2 separate regions of the Homo sapiens genome follow, and region 2 is linked to region 1. The links are contacts of gene promoters, found by promoter capture Hi-C in blood cells and fetal thymus (Javierre and others, 2016). All regions are on one chromosome and are shown on one strand. Each heading gives the region's core, a stretch centred on a gene start or on the middle of the fragment in contact. The rest is flanking DNA. Distances are from core to core; before and after follow the strand shown.

The links. Contacts are between HindIII fragments. The CHiCAGO score rates a contact against its expected background, and 5 or more counts as called.
Region 2: the fragment with the promoter of NAA10 here is called in contact with the fragment with the promoter of CCNQ in region 1 in 3 of 17 cell types (neutrophils, non-activated CD4 T cells and naive CD4 T cells); the score reaches 7.2 in neutrophils.

Annotation. Positions count from the first base shown.
Region 1 is chrX:153,597,550-153,604,606 of GRCh38, reverse strand. It overlaps CCNQ (cyclin Q), which reads left to right and starts at 5,468. Exons shown (of 5, transcript NM_152274.5): 1 at 5,468-5,645. The coding sequence starts at 5,534. It overlaps LOC105373383 (a long non-coding RNA gene), which reads right to left and starts at 5,267. Exons shown (of 1, transcript NR_131982.1): 1 at 4,714-5,267. It also overlaps the pseudogene KRT18P48. RefSeq lists enhancers at 2,956-3,455, 3,456-3,957 and silencers at 5,098-5,237, 5,338-5,387, 5,398-5,757. The HindIII fragment of the contact is 8,000 bases long and covers 1-6,756 here.
Region 2 is chrX:153,933,787-153,940,237 of GRCh38, reverse strand. NAA10 (N-alpha-acetyltransferase 10, NatA catalytic subunit) reads left to right here and starts at 5,201. Exons shown (of 8, transcript NM_003491.4): 1 at 5,201-5,354; 2 at 5,763-5,861; 3 at 6,237-6,295. The coding sequence starts at 5,334. It overlaps RENBP (renin binding protein), which reads left to right. Exons shown (of 11, transcript NM_002910.6): 9 at 5-136; 10 at 4,662-4,749; 11 at 4,834-4,969. The coding sequence ends at 4,952. RefSeq lists enhancers at 29-793, 3,931-4,435, 4,436-4,941 and a silencer at 4,932-5,511. The HindIII fragment of the contact is 15,713 bases long and covers 1-6,451 here.

The DNA.
Region 1 (7,057 bases), core at 4,219-6,718:
ATGGCAGACATCCGGGCCCAATATGACGAGCTGGCTTGGAAGAAAAGAGAGGAGCTGGACAGTACTGGTCTCAGCAGATTGAGGACAGCACCAGAGGGGTTACCATGCAGTGACAGAGCGAGACTCCATCTCAAAAACAAACAAACAAACAAACAAACAAACCCTCTGAACTCAGTGAATGGAACCTTATTTGGAAAAAGCATCTGTGCAGATGTAATTAAGTTAAGGATCTCGAGATGAGATCCTCTTGGATTAGGGCCCTAAATCCAATGACAGGTGTCCTTATAAGAAGGAAAGAAGTCACAAACACAGAGGAGAAGGCCACGTGGATTCACAGAGAATACAGTGGTGCCGCCACAAGCCAGGGGACACCCAGATCCCCCGGGAACTGGAAGAGGCAAGAAGGAGCCTCCCCCAGAGCCTGCAGAGGAGGGAACAGGGTCCTGCAGACACCTGGATCTTAGGCTTCTGGCCTCCAGAGCTGCAAGAGAGTGCATTTCTGTTGTATTACTTTGTTATGGCAGCCACAGGAAAGGGTGGGGGGACCATGAAAGGAAACAAATACATCCTCACTTTGATACTTTTGTACAAATACGCCATAGGAAAATAACACATTTAGGGCCCCACTAATGCATGACAATTGAGTAACTCATGCTATAGACGGGCCTCCTTCTTCTCTCCCTGATACCTTGACCTCTACCCTCCCTCCCTTCCTTAGCCACTTGCTCCTGATCCCCAGATCCTGTCAGCATGTTGTCATGGATAGAGTGGACCTGTGTGACATGCGAGGGATGGCGAGATCAAGGTCCCTGGAGACAGACTGTGGCATGGAGCCGGAGAGCTAAAGCATCTTAGCGGGAAGGATAGTAAAAGCATAATGTTGCTCTTTGGGGCAAGTGGAAACTTCTAGAGTTCTCGTGTATGAGAATGGAACTGCAAATCATTTGCCAGTGGCTTTCCTGCTTTGCTCCAGCGAGAGGGTCACAGTGGGACCAGTGGCTGTGAGTGGAGTCCCCATGGGGTTGCAGGACAGGAGCTTCCACAAGGTGCCTCCTGCTGCAGGAGCCTTCACCCACCCGAGACGGGGAGCCAGCTGCTCATCACAGGAGGGGCTCAGGGGCTGCCTAGGAGACAGATTTCGGGCAAAGGTGTTTCCATCAGCTCCCACTCTGGCTGCTGTGCGCCCCCACAATGAGGATCCCCCATCTCCAACCATCGCAGCGGAGCCTTGTTTCAGAGGTGACCTCGCTGACCTCGTTGCAGGACTTTGAGGGTACACCCCACTCTGGTCCCCTCCCGCACCGCCTCCTTGCTATCAGGAGTCGTCCCTGGGCTATCGGAGGCCCAGGACAGCCCGGCCACCCTTGCTGTGGCTGTCCTGCTGACGCCCTGGGTTTCTCAGCTCCTTGCATTCACTTGGCCCTTCTGAGAGCTTCCTGGCTCCGTAACATTGCCCGCTTCTTCCAGCTGCTCTGCCCTCCGACTTTCTTTGCTGGCCAGTCTCCCAGCTCTTCCTTGTGAAACCCCTTCTCCCCATAAGAAGATTTTGTCCTCAGTGGCCCGATTGCATGTGGTAGTTTTAAAAAATAATGGATTTACTCAGATATCATTCACATACCATAAAATTCACCCACTTAAAGCATTCACAGAGTTGTGCCACCATTGCCACTATCTAATTCCAGAACATCCTTGTCACCCCTGTCTCCATCAGCAGTCACTCCCTGTGCTCCCTCCCTGGCCCTGGCACCCACTCATCTGGTTTCAGTCTCCCACACATCTATTGCTGGGGTGGATTTTCCGGCCCTCATGCCCAACTGGCACCACTTCTCCTTAGGTCCAACTTGGTCACACCCAAGATCCCGTGCATGCTCAGAGCTTGCTCAATTACTCTACTGAGCTCCTGGTTACTCAAATCGCTGAAAAAGAAAATAATACCAGGCAGAAGATTCACCAAAAAGTTACAATCTGACCAGGTTTTGTGGCTCACACCTGTAATTCCAGCACTTTGGGAGGCCGAGGTGGCCAAATCACCTGAGGTCAGGAGTTTGAGACCAGCCTGGCCAACATGGTGAAACCCCGTCTCTACTAAAAATACAAAAAATTAGCTGGGTGTGGTGGCACACGCCTGGCCTGTAATGCCAGCTACTCAGGAGGCTGAGGCAGGAGTATCACCTGAACCCGGGAGGTGGAGGTTACAGTGAGCCAAGATCATGCTACTGCACTCCAGCCTGGGCGGCAGAGTGAGAATCTGTCTCAATAAATAAATAAATAAATAAATAAATAAATAATTGAATAGAAAGATGAAGGGTGGGTAGGCAGTGGGGAGCGGGGAGGGAGAACAGAGATGGAGGCTGTGGATCTTGCCGATGGTGACAGGGAGCTGGCTCGGAAGGTACAGTGGAGAGGTGACTGTGGCAGGAGGTTCCCAGGCAGCGAGGAGTTTCTAAGGACAAGTGGCAGGCCTGGACTTTGATGAGGCTGCCAGGATGAAGACCAGAGCAGGGTGGGTGCTTTGGAAATTGCCCATGCTTTTTGAAGACCACACAGGCTTTCAAGTGACCCTGCCCGTGCACAGCCTCTCTTCTGGACCCCAAATGCCTCTTCCCTCTTTCTCTGCCTCATCCTTTGAGCTTCAGCCCGAGTCCTATTCCTTGAAATGAGTCACTCACTCTTTTCCATAATAGTGCTATTGTGAGGGGTAGGCTGTGATTTAATCAATGTATGGGCACATGGTGAGGATTAGCTAAGGAAGCGTTGGCAAATATTACAGAATCGCGCTTCTGATGGTGACTGTCAACCTCAGGGTCGAGCCTGGGGTTGAGAACCAGGCTTCAGCCCTCAAGGAACTCACCATCTGAGCCGGGGTGATGAGACGGGGGATGCCACCTTTGGGACACTGGGGACAGGCTTGCCAGTGGGAGAGGAGGTGCTGCCTAAAGGTTTGCTGGCTCCAGTTGGTGGCTAGTGAATTATTCATTCATCAACCACTGCGCCGAGGTGACCCAGGGCTTTAAAATTCATGTGTTCATTGAGTCATTCTCTCGGCTCACATTCCCAGGCACCTTTTACTTGCTGAGCCCGGACTCTTTTCAGCACATAAGGCCCAGAGGAGAAGGAGGAGTTGTGCCTAGAGGATGGGCGGGCCACCAGGGGCCAGAGGGAAGCACTGTTTGAATTGGGGTGTTCACATATGTGCACGTGTGCATGTGTGTATGTGGGGGGGGGATGTGTGATGCATGTGTGTGCGTGTGCATGGGGGTGTGTGTTAGTGTGCACAGATGTGGTGGTGGGGGAAGCTGAGAGGCAGCAGCCTGATCCCCCAAGGCCCATAGCTGCTTTAGGGAACATGGGCTTGAGCCTTCCAGATCTAGCTGTGGCTGGTCCAGCCCAGGGCACTGTCTGGGGGAACACAGGACCTGGCCTCCACCAACGGGGCTGAGGGGAGGTGGGCCCTCTGGGCATTGCCTAGGTTTCAGCCTTGGGCTGGGGAAGAGGGTGGGGCTGCTCACAGCTTGCAGACAGACACGGTGCTCAAGGCGTGGCAGGTGTCAGCAGCACAGGGAGCTGGGGACCCTGAGTCAGTCCACACACGCACACATATGCACACACACGTGCACACCCGCGCACATACAGACAAGAGCAAGCTGGGTGATGGAAGTGGAGTGGTAATTCCTTCACCAGGCAGAATACGTGCAGAGACGTTCAGCCAGGAGACCATAACCTTTGGGGGACCTGCCGAAGGTCTCTGCCATGAGGCAAAGTGGTGAGATCCGAGGCTGGTCAGTTGATAGGGTGACTCCACAAGGACCAGCATGTGAGGTCAAGGCCTCACATTTTCTCCTGAAGGTGAAGGGACTCCGGAGGGTGTTAGGCAGGGCAGGACCTGTTCAGCCTCGCCTTTTAGAAAGCTCGCTCTGGCGGCTGGTATTGTGGGGTGAATGCCAGCCCCCAAAAGGTGTGTCCGTGTCCTAATCCCTGTTACTGTGACCTTATTTAGCAGAAGGGCCTTTGCAAGATGTAATGAAAATAAGGATGTCAAGATGAGCTCCTCCTGGATTATCTAGGTAGGCCCTAATCCAGTGACAGGTGTGCTTATAAGAGACAGACGAGAAGACAGGGAGAAGGCCATGTAGAGACGGAGGCACAGATTGGAGTGATGGGGCCACAAGCCCAGGAAGAACTCAGGCTGCAGAAGCTGGAAGAGCAAGGAAGAACTGATCCTCTGCCAGAGCCTTTGAGGGAGCAAAGCCCTAGTGTCACCTCCATTTCAGGTGTCTGGCCTCCAGAATTGAGAGAGGATATACTTCTGCTGTTTTTAGCAACCCAATTTGTGGTCATTTGTTACAGCAGCCCCAGGAAACTAACCCAGCTGGGATGGAGAGAGGACTTGGGGAGGCTGGTGGAGGCAGGAAGTGCTGAGGAAGGAGAATGAGGCCGGACTGGGTGTGTGGGGTGGGGGTAAGAGGTGGAGACTTCCACACCATCAGGAGATCAAGGCGCCTGGGCAGAAGGGTTTAGGGAGCAGTAGCTTTTTCCTCTCCATATTGCCAGCTGTCTGAAATTGTAGCAATGATCTGAATGTATCAGAATGACTCCAGTGACTGTCACTAACTTGGGAGTGAGTACCTTTGGGGTTCTATGTCCCTAAAGCCTGATGCACCATTTCCTGCTTGTGGAAGACGCGAATGAAAAATGAGATGGTAAATACCTGAGTTCGATATTCAGCATTCATTCAGCAAACATTTATTAGGCTCCTACTGTGCGTCGCGCTGGAAAGGCAAGCAGAAGCTAGATTCCCAATCGATCCCGGGAGGCTGGACGATCCAGACACAAACACCGTTCATGCGTCTATTCGAAAAGGCCCTCTTGGAATTTTGTGCACAGCATTTCCTTGGGGTGTCGATGGATCGGGGTCTGCAAACATTAGCACCTTTTCCGGTGGCCGCTGTCTTCTCAGACCTCAGACACCGGCGCCTCCCCGTGAACTCCCGCAGGCGTCCCTAGCCCAGGGCTTGGCGGGCGCTGCCGGTTGTACCTGGCCTAAGCCACGCTGGGCCGACAGCCCGGGGCGACACCCCCTTCGGACGGCGGGGATTTGCGGCTCGGGTGACCGGAGGTGCCCTCCCGCGGGTCTCGGAGCAGCTCCGCGGGCTCTCGCTCCGCGGGGAGGAGCCTGCGTCTCCCAGGGGCGGGGCTCGAGGCGCCTAGGGGCCGGTGGACACATACCAGCCGCCCCGTGGTGTCGGCCTCTGCGCCTGCGCCTGCGCCTGCGCGCGCGGCCAGGCAGCGTCTGTGGCGCAAGCGCGCGCTCACCCTTGGGCGAGGGCCCTGAGGGGCGGGGCGGGGCGGAGGAGCGGCGGGGCGGCGAGGGGCGGGGCGGGGCGGCGAGGGGCGGGGCGGGGCGGCGAGGGGCGGGGCGGGGCGGGGCCGGACGCGGCCGGGTGGGGCGGCAGCGCCCGCCGCGAGCACCTCCAGTTCTGCCGGCTTCTGCGCGCCGGGGCCGCCTCTCCTTCCGCCGGTGCCGCGGCGCCTCATGGAAGCCCCGGAGGGCGGCGGAGGGGGGCCTGCAGCGCGGGGCCCGGAGGGGCAGCCGGCGCCCGAAGCCAGGGTGCACTTCCGAGTGGCGAGGTTCATCATGGAGGCAGGTAACCGCGGCCGGGGGAGGCCAGGACAGGCGGCGCCGCGGCCCGCTTCGCGGAGCGGGCCCGGCTGGCCAGGCCGGCCTTCTGGAGTGCTCACCGTAGCAGAGGCCGGGAAGCCCTGCTCGGGGCTGAGGACCTCCGCCTTTGCGCCGCGCCCGGTGTGCTGAGCAGTGAGCCGCGAGGTATCCCCATGGCGTGGACCGGTGTGCAGGCCCTAGGAGAGGACGTGGCCGGGTTGGGCCTCCAGCGAGGCGGAGACCGGCCCGGGCGCCCGCAGCTCTGCGCAGTGCGCCACGCCTTCTGCCGGCACCCGCGGCCCTGCACTCCGGTAGACTTTATGGCGCTTAGTCGCGCGGAGCCTTTTGGAGAACGCTGTCCGAGGGTTCCTGTCACTCCGGGGACCTAGGCTGCTTGCAGCTCCTGTTCCGAACCCTGCCAGGACATCCACAGTAGTGTTGGGCTCCGCGCTTCCCAGGCGAGGTGATTAAGCTAAGATCTCTGTAGAAACATCGTTTCCATCCAGCCATCAACAGTATTTTTTTTTTTTTCGAGACGGAGTCTCGCTCTGTTGGCCAGGCTGGAGTGCAGTGGCGTGATCTCGGCTCACTGCAACCTCCGTCTCCCGGACTAAAGCAATTATCCTTCCTCACGCTTCCGAGTAGCTGGAATTACAGGTGTGTGCCACCGTACCCGGCTAATGTTTGTATTTTTAGTAGAGACGGGGTTTCACCATGTTGGCCAGGCTGGTCTTGAACTCCTGGCCTCAGGTGATCCAGTTGCCTCGCCCTCCCAAAGTGCTGGGATTACAGGCGTGAGCTACCTCGTCCGGCCCATCAACAGTATCTTGATAGGAGATACTGTTAGTTGGCGGGTAGTTATTTCCTACCTTTACTGCTTGGGGGAGAAGGGTTGGGCAGATGTGCTTTCTACCCAAGGTGGGCGGAGAGTCTGAGGACTGCTGCAGGACTGTTCATCCCAGTGATATGTAAATTTACTGTAATTTGCAAGAAGAGTTGCAAAGTTATTATTAGGGAAGGATGGCAGTGACACCTCATCTGCTACCGTCTGCTCGGAGGGTCCGTGTAAATTGGGGTTTGCTCTGTAAAACAAAGCTTGGAAGGTCATGTCAGTAACAGCACCTTATCTGGCATCTCCTGGAATGAGGGGTCCCAGGTAGGAATTGTCTTTATATAACAAGTTTAGACCTTCTGAGGGACTTCTTTATAAAATGTATTACACAATCCTTTGTCCTTTGTAGGAGGCTAAATATTGATTTCCCAAAGATGTCCCTATCCTAATCCCTGGAACCTGTGAATGTCATCTTATATAGCAAAAGAGATTTTGAAGATGTGATTAGAGACCTTAAGATGGGAGATCATCCTAGATTATCTGGGTGTAACCACACCCATCCTTAT
Region 2 (6,451 bases), core at 3,952-6,451, 340 kb before region 1:
TCAGCTGGAGTGGGCCATGAAGCTCTGGTGGCCACACAGTGAAGCCATGATTGCCTTCCTCATGGGTTACAGTGACAGTGGGGACCCTGTGCTGCTGCGCCTCTTCTACCAAGTGGCTGAGTACACCTTCCGCCAGGTGAGAGCTGCCTCCTTGTCCCCTCTAGAGGCTGAATGGGGGAATGGGGGGAGTCTGGCCCGGCTGCGCTCTTGCCCCCTCGCTGAGCACAGTCGCTCAGCTGGTCTGAGAGTTTCCGGAGCCCCAGTGCTGTTCGTTCAGTCAACGAAGAAGCCTCTGCCCTCCTAGAGCTCGAATTTTGGTGGTGGGGGCGGGAGGAGCAGAGTGTAAGCAAGCAGACCTAGGTGGTGGTGAGAGTGACAGCTGTGGGAATAATACCACTGGAGAGGGTTGTGGGGGGGCTCTTTCCTATGGGGTGGCAGCAGGGAAGCACTGAGCAGGGGCCGAGTCAATCAGGGGTGTGTCTGAGGGACTGGGAGTCTGGGCAGGGTGGGGCATGTGGCACAGCAGGGGGGCCTGGCAGCCCGGGAGGATAAAGGCAGAGTGGGCAAGGGACGGACTCCAGCTGCCTGGTCTGATTCCATTGTTACCTGGGTCCTGGGGCTTGGAGGGGAGGGTGTTATGGGGGAAGTCTGTAGGGAACAGGGCAGAAGCTGGGACAGCAGAGGAAGCTGTAGCTGTCATCCCAGCCAGTGAGGGCTGGCCCAGGTGGGAGCTGGTGGGGACAGAGGGTTCACAGTCTGGTGGAGCAGCAGTGGGATTCCTGAGTCTCCAGTTCAGACGGAGAGATCTGGACTCACCATGAATGTTTTCAGTATCACAAGAATGTAGATGCTGCCTGGCACAGTGGCTCATGTCTATAATCCTAGCACTTTGGCAGGCTGAGACGGGAGGATCGCTTGAACCGAGGACTTCAAAACCAGTCTGGGCAACATAACGAGACCTGGTCTCTACAAAAAATTTTAAAAAATTAGCTGGGTGTCATGCACACCTGTAGTCCTAGCTACTCAGGAGGCTGAGGCAGGAGGACTGCTTAAGCCCAGTTTGAGGCTGCAATGAGTTATGATCACACCACTGCACTCCAGCCTGGGCTGGGCAACAGAGCGAGACTATGTCTCAAAAAAAAAAGGCCGGGCACGGTGGCTCACGCCTGTAATCCCAGCACTTTGGGAGACTGAGGCAGGTGGATCACCTGAGGTCAGGAGTTCAAGACCAGCCTGGCCAACATGGTGAAACCCCATCTCTACTAAAAATACAAAAATTAGCCAAGCGTGGTGGTGGGTGCCTGTAATCCCAGCTACTTGGGAGGCAGAGGCAGGAGAATCGCTTGAACCCAGGAGGCAGAGGTTGCAGTGAGCCGAGATCGCACCATTGCACTCCAGCCTGGGGGACAAGAGCAAGACTTGGTCTCAAAAAAAAAAAAAACAAAAAAAAAAAAACAGTACAGATGCTGCTGAGATCTATGAGGCAAAAAGGGAAATGGGGGCCCAGCAAAGGAGACAAGAATCAGTGGTGACGCAGGAAGAAAACCAAGCCAGGGGCTCCCTGAAGCCCAAGTGCTAGGAGCAGAGTGATAAGCTGTCTTGACTGCTGCCCAGGAGGCAACTCGAGCTGCTGAACACAGGAAAGGGCATGGCACCCAGTGGAAAGGGCATGGCACCCAGTGGAAAGGGCATGGCACCCAGTGGTGGCAAGGCCTGGGTGGTGAATGAATGAAGATTCATCATGCGTTTCTAAAGCCACGACTCCGACTCCACTGGTGAACCCTGGTACTGCGAGGACTATAGCAGGGGATCTTATTCTGGGGTCTGTGAGCTTCGAAACCGGGGGCGGAGAATCACATCTTTATTTGTACTAACCTCTAACTGAAACTAGCATTTGCTGCCATTATGAGTGGAGGCAATGAACCACATTGGTAATAGAAGTGCCTGGCTTTGTCACCGATAGAAATCCAGATGTGTTTACATTGCATTGCAGTTAGAGAGACATCTGCAAGTATCACATATATTCGTCACTACTTCCAAAGCAGCAGGGTTGTTAGACCTGCAGCTATATCTTAATATTTAATGCATTCATAGAGTGTGTGTTAGGGGCCACCAGTTCTAACTCAAAAATGAAATTGAAGGAATACATTTTAATAAGATATAGATGACATTAAACAATTACAAAAGTTATAATCAACAGGTAAATCGGCTGGGCATGGTGGCTCATGCCTGTAATCTCAGCACTTTGGGAGACTGAGGCGGGTGGATCACCTGAGGTCAGGAGTTCTGGACCAGCCTGGTCAACATGGCGAAACCCCGTCTCTACTAAAAATACAAAAATTGGGCTGGTCGCGGTGGCTCACGCCTGCCATTCCAGCACTTTGAAAGGCCGAGGCAGGTGGATCACTTGAGGTCAGGAGTTCGAGAACAGCCTGGCTGACATGGTGAAACCCCCATCTCTATTAAAAATACAAAAAATTAGCCGGGTGTGGTGGCGGGTGCCTGTAATCCCAACTACTGGGGAGACTGAGGCAGGAGAATCACTTGAACCCGGGAAGCACTCCAGCCTGGGCAACAGGAGCAAAACTCCATTAAAAAAAATAAAAAATAAAAAAAATAAATAAATAAATTAGCCGGGCTTGGTGGCGGGTGCCTGTAATCCCAGCTACTCAGGAGGCTGAAGCAGGAGAATCACTGGAACCTGGGAGGTGAAGGTTGCAGTGAGCTGGGATCACGCCACTGCACTCCATCCAGTCTGGGTGACAAGAGCGAAACTCCGTCTTAAAAAAACAAAAACCAAAAAACTAACCAACAAACAAAAAAACAGGTAAGTCATTATGCATCAACCAACATAACAGAATACAGAAGGCAAAAATCCAGACATTGAAGGAAATTCTTCTTTACCTTCCTGTGTCATGTCAAGCAGTCAAAAAATAAGTAAGGACTTGAACAATGTAACTCAAAAGACAGAATGAATACACACAGAACTAGTTTTTATTTATTTATTTATTTATTTATTTATTTATTTATTTATTTATTTTTGAGACAGGGTCTCTATCGCCCAGGCTGAGTGCAGTGGCACAATCATGGCTCAGTGCAGCCTCAACCTCCTGGGCTCAAGCGATCCTTCCACCTCAGCCACCCAGGTAGCTGGGACTACAGCTGTGTGCCATCACGCCCAGCTAATTCTTTAATTTTTTTTTTGTATAGATGGGGTCTCACTATGTTTCCCAGCCTGGTCTTAAACTCCTGGCCTCAAGTGATCCTCCCGCCTCGGCCTCTCAAAGTGCTGGGATTATAGGCGTGAGCCACTGTGCCCAGCCCAGGACTAGTTTTACTTCCTACAAAGAAGAATACACCAACTCTTATGGGCCACCATTTAAAGAGACATTTTCATAGTGGACTTCAATGTAATTGAGTCCATGATCCTTTTGAGAAGGGGCTGAACTGACAAGCCTCCCTGAGACAGGTGCCCCATGGAATGCTAGTGGAGAGAGAAGGAAAGAGAGTGGAATGGGCACTGGGCAGGGGCAGAGGGAGGAGGAGATGAGTTTGGGACCAATGGTGAGCCAGGACAGGAGTCAGATGAGATTGTGCATCTACTGGAAGACAGGCCTGTGAAGCCGGGAATGGGAGCTCCAAGGGAGTCACTTCTTAAGAGTTTCATGACAGGTCGTCGCCTCCATCAGGGTTCTTTGTTTCTTTTCTTTTCCTTTTTTTTTTTTTTTTTTTGAGACGGAGTCTGGCTCTGTTGCCCAGGCTGGAGTGCAGTGGCGCGATCTTGGCTCACTGCAAGCTCCGCCTCCCGGGTTCACGCCATTCTCCTGCCTCAGCCTCCCGAGTAGCTGGGACTACAGGTGCCCGCCACCACTCCCGGCTAATTTTTTGTATTTTAGTAGAGACGGGATTTCACTGTGTTAGCCAGGATGGTCTCGATCTCCTGACCTTGTGATCCGCCCGCCTCGGCCTCCCAAAGTGCTGGGATTACAGGTGTGAGCCTTTGCACCCGGCCGGGTTCTTTGTTTCTTTGAATCAACGTAACCACGACTACAATCACAATAGAGAACTTTTTTGTTTGTTTGTTTGTTCGTTTGTTTGTTTGTTTGAGATGGAGTCTCGCTCTGTCACCCAGGCTGGAGCGCAATGGCGTGATCTCAGCTCACTGCAACCTCCGCCTCCTGTGTTCAAGCTATTCTCCCGCCTCAGCCTCCCGAGTATACTGCTGGGATTACAAGTGCGTGCCACCACGTCCGGCTAATTTTGTATTTTTAGTAGAGATGAGGTTTCACCATGTTGTCCAGGCTGATCTTGAACTCCTGACCTCAGGTGATCCGCCCGCCTCGGCCTCCGAAAGTGCTGGGATTACAGGCGCAAGCCACAGCTCCCGGCCCGATAGACAACGTTTCTACACCCCAGGGCAGAGTTCTTTCATTCCATCTAGCAGTGTCTCATCCCCTTGCCCAGTCGGTTATATAGTTGTAGCCTGCCTGCTGCGCCCACCCCTGCTTTCATCTTTGTGGAGGACGCAGTGTCGCGGTTAAGATCGCTGGTTCTGGAGCCACGTCACCTGGGGTCAACCCAGGCTCTGACCCCTGGTAGCGATGCAGTGGCATCTGGGCGGGTCCTGCAGGCGCTAGCTGTCACTGTCTCTGTTATTCCAGTTTCGCGATCCCGAGTACGGGGAATGGTTTGGCTACCTGAGCCGAGAGGGCAAGGTGGCCCTCTCCATCAAGGGAGGTCCTTTCAAAGGTGAGTGGGGGAGAGGGCGGGGCCGCAGGGGTTGCGCCTCTCGGCTGCCCCCGGCCCTCACTACCTGCCCGCCTCTACCCGCAGGCTGCTTCCACGTGCCGCGGTGCCTAGCCATGTGCGAGGAGATGCTGGGCGCCCTGCTGAGCCGCCCCGCCCCCGCCCCCTCCCCCGCCCCCACCCCCGCCTGCCGAGGCGCGGAATAAAGGCTGAGTCCGCTCCACCTGCGGCTGTGCGCGCGTCTGTGGGCTCGCGGGAGGGGGGCTGTCGCGCCGAGGGAGGGGCCGGCTCCAGCTCCGGGGCAGCGCCCGCCCCGCCCCCAGGCCCGCCCCGCGCTGACCGGCTCCGCGCATTGGCCCGCCCCGTGCGCTGGCCTGTCCCGCGCATTGGCCAAGCGGCCGGGAGGACGGGCCCGGCGGCCGTGCACTTCCGGCCGGTGGCCGGCCCGGCGCGCACCGCCCCTTCCGCCGTCGCCCAGCGAGCCCAGCTCCGGTCCCAGCCCCGGCCGTCCCGGCGTCGCTTCGGAGCGCGGCGGCAGCTGACTGCGCCTTCACGATCCGCTGGGACCCGCGAGCCCCGCCGCCGTTATGAACATCCGCAATGCGAGGGTGAGCGCCCGGGGCGGGAGGCTGTCCGCGCCGCGTGGGCGCCGGGCCGGGTGGCTGCCGCGCATGCTCCCGAGGGCCCCGGCCGAGCCCGGCCCGGTGGCCCTGAGTGTGCCTGCGGCCGCTGGACCTATGGGGCTGGCCCAGCCCGCCGAAGAGGCCGGGGCGCGGGGCCGGGGCTGCGATTCCCTCCTGTTTGCGTGATGTCGGGCCTCCGTTGGGTGGGCTCCGGGGACCTCCGGGGCGCCCACTCCTGTTCCTGTGCTCCGGGCGTTGTGCAAAGTCAGATCGTCACAGTGCCTGCCCAGCCCCGAGGGAGCGGGGCCGAGCAGACCGACGGGGAGCAGGCTTCTCACCCGTGGTCACCGCCGCCTTAGACTGAGCGCGTTCCACTGCCCTCCTTCCCTGCAGCCAGAGGACCTAATGAACATGCAGCACTGCAACCTCCTCTGCCTGCCCGAGAACTACCAGATGAAATACTACTTCTACCATGGCCTTTCCTGGCCCCAGGTGGGCAGCTTCTGAATTTGGGCATGGGGGAAAGCAGGCCGAGGAAAATCCCATCTGGCCATCTTGGAGGGAGTGGACAAGTCTGTCAGAGCCCAGGGGGCTGTATGGTCGGTGGCGTCCTGGGTGTTTTCAGCTGGCAGACAGGGGCAAAGGAAAAGAAGGCGCCCGAAGGGAGCAGAGAATAGGGGCAGGATCCCCACTTTGCGTCTTCTTTCTGGGTATGGGCAGGGCACAGTGTGGCGAGGGGGAGACCAAGCCACTCAGCCCGGAGGTCATGAGCCATCACACAACTCGCCACTCGTCCAGTTTGTGTCCCTCTAAAGGGCTCTTCTAGCTCCGACAAGAAGTTTTCTCACTCTGTTTTCCTGTCACCAGCTCTCTTACATTGCTGAGGACGAGAATGGGAAGATTGTGGGGTATGTCCTGGCCAAAATGTGAGTCACCAAGGAGGAAGACAGAAGCTACACGTGTCTGGTGGATGCCTCTGTGGGCTTTAAAAAAAATGAATAGGCTTCTTCTTTTCAGTACAGTTGAAAGTTTATAGAAAAATTGAACAGAAAGGACATGGAGTTCTTATAGCACCCCTCAGC